Regions from separate parts of the Homo sapiens genome. Here region 1 is linked to region 2. Evidence: promoter capture Hi-C in human tissues and cell types (Jung and others, 2019). All regions are on one chromosome and are shown on one strand. Each heading gives the region's core, a stretch centred on a gene start or on the middle of the fragment in contact. The rest is flanking DNA. Distances are from core to core; before and after follow the strand shown. Region 1 has its middle 44 kb from the start of OR5H6. Region 2 holds the start of OR5H6 (olfactory receptor family 5 subfamily H member 6).

The links. The method cuts DNA at HindIII sites, captures the fragments that hold promoters and counts their contacts. A contact is called where the count stands out against the background at its distance.
Region 1: a fragment that was not itself captured here is called in contact with the fragment with the promoter of OR5H6 in region 2 in 1 of the 25 tissues and cell types used here (liver).

The regions. Positions count from the first base shown.
Region 1 is chr3:98,218,905-98,221,714 of GRCh38, forward strand. No RefSeq gene overlaps it. Among named protein-coding and RNA genes, the nearest start is that of OR5H6, 44 kb to the right of the region's middle. The HindIII fragment of the contact is 5,010 bases long and covers 1-2,810 here.
Region 2 is chr3:98,262,879-98,265,578 of GRCh38, forward strand. OR5H6 (olfactory receptor family 5 subfamily H member 6) reads left to right here and starts at 1,366. Exons shown (of 1, transcript NM_001005479.2): 1 at 1,366-2,478. The coding sequence starts at 1,455. The coding sequence ends at 2,384. It also overlaps a transcript of LOC105373999 not described here. The HindIII fragment of the contact is 14,089 bases long and covers 1-2,700 here.

The sequences.
Region 1 (2,810 bases), core at 186-2,685, 44 kb before region 2:
TCAAGTATCTCTGATAATCTAGGTCCTCCCATGATGAAGGCCTGTTGGATGCAAATGTCCACAGTCATCACTGTGTTAGAAATAAAGGCTCCTGAATGACTCACGCCAGAACTACTAAAACAGAGTCTGCATTTTTGACAACATCACTAGGAAAGTCATAGGCATTATAGTTTGAGCAGCACAGATATAGGACACCTTACAGTGTGGTGTCTGTGTTTTTCGATTTGCTCTCCTGTTGAACTATGCCTAATAAAGTTTCCCATGAGATTTTAGCTTACAACAGGGGAACAAGGTTTATGTCAAAAATTTGAGCTGTAATTTGCATGGGGAAGACAACCGTATTTGGGTTTGGCTCCTGAGGGAATCAGAGACTTTGGCCTTGTTAAAATTATGTTTTGATTACTTCGGAGGAGACCATCCTAATCAAAACACTAAGAGTAGATTTCATATGTGAACTAAAACTTGCACAAACATGCCAGAAGTGCCACCTGTGGTGGTAAATAGTGGCATAAGTACTATGTCAATTGTTAAAACTGGAAGTGTCTACATTGAAATGATGGTTATGATTCCAGAATTTGTACTGCCATTTGAGACAACCTGCACTTCTCATACATGACCAAATCCACCGTGCTCACTAGAACAGCATCGATTTGTCCTACAGGGAGTCTTCTGGCACTCTTATGAGAATTTTGGTTTTTCTGCTCCTTCATCTTCTGGCAAAAGTACAGAGTTGTACTACTGAATGATTCTATGTTCAATTCAAATTTATATTAACAACATTTTCCTGAGAATGGGAAAAGAAACATCCAAAAAGAATGAATATGCCATGAATTGTTGGCATTCCTGTGTTGTTATATTTTATTTCTGTTTTAGAAAGCCTAATGTTTTTTATTTTTAATTTTTTTTTTTTTTTTACAGAGTCTCACTCTGTCACCCAGGCTGCAGTGTAATGGTGCTATCTTGGCTCACTGCAACCTCTGGCTCCCAGGTTCAAAAGATTCTCCTGCCTCAGCCTCCCGAGTAGCTGGGATTATCAGGCGCACACCACCACACCCGGCTAATTTTGTATTTTTAGTAGAGATGGGGTTTCACCATGTTGACCAGGCTGGTCTTGAACTCCTGACCTCTGGTGATCTACCCGCCTTGGCCTCCCAAAGTGCTGGGATTAGAGGCGTGAGCCACTGCACCTGGCCAGAGAGCCTAATAGTTTTAAAGGATCTCCACAATTTCTTTCAAAATATGGGTAAGGAAGAAATAATTTCTATAATTTTCATTATGCTTCATAGAAATGTTAAAAGTGTTATTTATTTCATTATAATTTTACATTGGGTACACAATCTGTCTAAATAACCAGGTTGAAATTAGACAACAAATATTGGGTTATCTTTATATTTTAGTTTCATGACTATAATATGGATAGGGTAAATAGTTATAAGACTAAATTGTTATTTTGATGATATTTTAGTATTTTGTTAACGTTATAATGATTTTATAAGATAACTTCTGGTGAACTAGTACGTTAAATAATTAGAACTGGGTTTAAGGATTCAGATCATAATGATTCTTAGAATTATTTCTAAATTTTCTGATACAAATACCCATTCTTTTACTTAATTACATCCTCTGATTAAAGCTTTTAAGGTGAGTCACTTACATATTAACCCTTGTAAACTTATACCCATTTTAACAATAATTTGACAGCTCACACTGTAAATGTTTTTACTGTGGATGAAAGATGCGTTAGGTGGAGTCCTAGTATTTCTGCCTTGGCTGACTTTGCAAAGAAAATCTGCCTTTGTTCCTAAACTATTTTCTCCCTCTTTCTCCATATTCCAAATGTAGCATGAGTGTGTTTCATTGGCCATCCTAGATCATGTCTCTTCACTCTAGAAGCAAGAAGAATGGGAAAATGAGTTTCTAGTTCTTTGGCTTTTAGAACAGTAGGTAACCTCTGACAGCCGCCAAGACTTGGGTGGCAAAAAAGAGGATCAGCTTTTGGCCATCTTCTAAAGGATGCATATCCACTTTGTTACCTCTTTTAATATAATTTCCTTAAGTTTATTTTCTTGTCATTCTTTTTTTTACTTGTCTAATCTCCAATGGATACATCATTTTTAACTATGTCTTTGACTACCACAATGATTCCAAGTAATTATTTCTATGAAGCTATAGTAGGTTCACATTACTGATTGGATGTCACCTAATTGGTCACATGATGCTCACTCCAAAACTTGCCAGCGCAACTGAGTTCCCATCCTCAATATTTAATGACCACTTACCCAGTCACCAAGTGACTCTTCCCTCCTTCATTAACCACTTTTTTTTCTCACCAAATATGTCACAGAATACTAGGGACTCTACATTCTGAATTCTTTTGAATCTATTTCTTTGACTTACCATCTCCTCCAATGACATCACATGGACTAGACCCTTAATATGCTTTTGAATCGCTTTGAGGGTATTTTCAAAATGCAGATCCCTAGACTCTGTTTCTGAAATAATTTCCACATTAAAACCTTGCAATCTGTATTTTTCATAGAAAAAACACTGCTAGGTGATTCTCATGTGTAATCTGATTTGGGATCACCTTGACTTTAGTAACAAGTTTTTGGTTAATATCCATGAGTCAGTTTCCCCTTCCTGTAGCACATTTTCTACACTATCAATCACTAAATTAAAAAATATGTTATGATGCCATTTCCCATCTTAAAACATTTGGTGCATGCTTATTATGTGAAGAGTGAAGTTTAAGATTTTTCACATGGCATTCATTTTATTTATTTTTAATCCAAAACCTTCAAAATCCTTTT
Region 2 (2,700 bases), core at 116-2,615:
ACATTCTCGGACTAAAACTCTTAAGGCTAGTCACTTAAAAATTAACTTTTGTATTCATATACACACTTCTGGCCATAATTTGACAGCTCACACTGTATGTGTTATTGATATAGATGAAGGATGCATTCAGTGGATTCATGGTATTTCTGTCATGGCTGAATTTACAACTAAAATCCACTTTTGATCCACTTTTCTTCTTCTATCCATATTCCAAAGGTAGGATCAATGTGTTTCATTGCCGTCCTAGGTCACTGTTTCTTCTCTCTACAGGCAAGAAGAATGGGAAAATGACTTTCTAATCCTTTTGGCTTCTAGAGCAATAGCAATAGGTAACCTCAGAAAGCCCCCAAGACTTGGGTGGCAAAAAAGAGGATTAGATCTTGACCATCTTATAAAAGATTATATCCACTTTGTACATCATTTCTAATGATGCCTTCAAATACTACAATGATTCCAGGTAATTACTTCTATTAAGCTCTAATAGACCCATATTACTGATTGAATCTCACCTAGTTGTTCAGATGTGATGCTCACTCCAAAAACTTGCCAGCAATTTGAGTTCTCATCCTAAATGTTTAATGTCCACCTATCTAGTCACCAAGTGACTTCTCTCTCCTTCACTGACCACATACTTCAAACTGAATATGTCACAGAATACTAGAGACTCTACATTTCGAATTCCTTTGAATCTATTCATTTGTCCTACCACGTCTTCCAGTGTCATTTCAAACTGGGACTAGAGACTTCACATGCATTTCAATCACTTGAGGGTATTTCCAAAATACAGATTCCTAGACCTCATTCCTGAAATCATCAATTTCTACAATAAAACCTCACAATCTGTATTTTTCATTAAAAAATACTCTCCCAGATGATTCTCATGTGTAATCTAATTTGGGATCCCTTTGACCTTAGTATCAAGTTTCTAATTAGGACTCCTGAATCACTGTTTCCTTTCTGCAGCATACTTTTACACTACCAAGAACTAAATTTTAAAAATATATCATGATGCCATTTTGTATCCTAAAATATTTGGTGCATGTTTATTGTGTGAAGAATAAAATTTGAGATTCTTCACATTGCATTCATTCCATTTATTTTAACCTGCGTCTTTCAAATATCTTTTTTCCTTCACCCTACATCCATGTCCCAGACAGATTTTTTTCATTACATTCAGTAGAGTCCACAAAAATTTAGTACATTCAGATAATGCGTCTTTTTAACTCTCAGTCTGTTAACTCCTACACAATTTTCAAACCAAATTCATTATTATTTCCATGTATTTAAATCCTCAAATATAGGGTTCATCAATTATAGCACTGATCAAAAAAAATTAAGAGGGCTCGATAATTACATAGTTTATTTCAACACCTCTTCCCCAATTTCAACTCACAATTCCATTGCAAATGTTCCTTTACCTTTGCTTCATTTTTCAGAGGACATGCAGTGAGGAGATGGAAGAGGAAAATGCAACATTGCTGACAGAGTTTGTTCTCACAGGATTTTTACATCAACCTGACTGTAAAATACCGCTCTTCCTGGCATTCTTGGTAATATATCTCATCACCATCATGGGGAATCTTGGTCTAATTGTTCTCATCTGGAAAGACCCTCACCTTCATATCCCAATGTACTTATTCCTTGGGAGTTTAGCCTTTGTGGATGCTTCGTTATCATCCACAGTGACTCCGAAGATGCTGATCAACTTCTTAGCTAAGAGTAAGATGATATCTCTCTCTGAATGCATGGTACAATTTTTTTCCCTTGTAACCACTGTAACCACAGAATGTTTTCTCTTGGCAACAATGGCATATGATCGCTATGTAGCCATTTGCAAAGCTTTACTTTATCCAGTCATTATGACCAATGAACTATGCATTCAGCTATTAGTCTTGTCATTTATAGGTGGCCTTCTTCATGCTTTAATCCATGAAGCTTTTTCATTCAGATTAACCTTCTGTAATTCCAACATAATACAACACTTTTACTGTGACATTATCCCATTGTTAAAGATTTCCTGTACTGATTCCTCTATTAACTTTCTAATGGTTTTTATTTTCGCAGGTTCTGTTCAAGTTTTTACCATTGGAACTATTCTTATATCTTATACAATTATCCTCTTTACAATCTTAGAAAAGAAGTCTATCAAAGGGATACGAAAAGCTGTCTCCACCTGTGGGGCTCATCTCTTATCTGTATCTTTATACTATGGCCCCCTCACCTTCAAATATCTGGGCTCTGCATCTCCGCAAGCAGATGACCAAGATATGATGGAGTCTCTATTTTACACTGTCATAGTTCCTTTATTAAATCCCATGATCTACAGCCTGAGAAACAAGCAAGTAATAGCTTCATTCACAAAAATGTTCAAAAGCAATGTTTAGATCTCATACAATCTCTCTTCTCTATTTACTAAAATTGTCCCAAGATTGTGCAAGTTAGAGGTGTCTATGTCTTGCCAGCATTCAAAGATGATGCAAAGTCCTAGCACTTTAATGGCCTAAGGTTTTAGTACCTATTAAACTAATAAATATATCCCTAATGTTATTCAATAGCACTTAAGAAATTTTAATCATGTTCATATCATAATTGAATAATATTAGCAGAAAGAAAATAAAAATATTTTACAAAGTCGTATGTTATTCAATGTGGCTTTATAAATGCATTAAATGCTAAAATAGTCTAGGTCATCTAATAAGG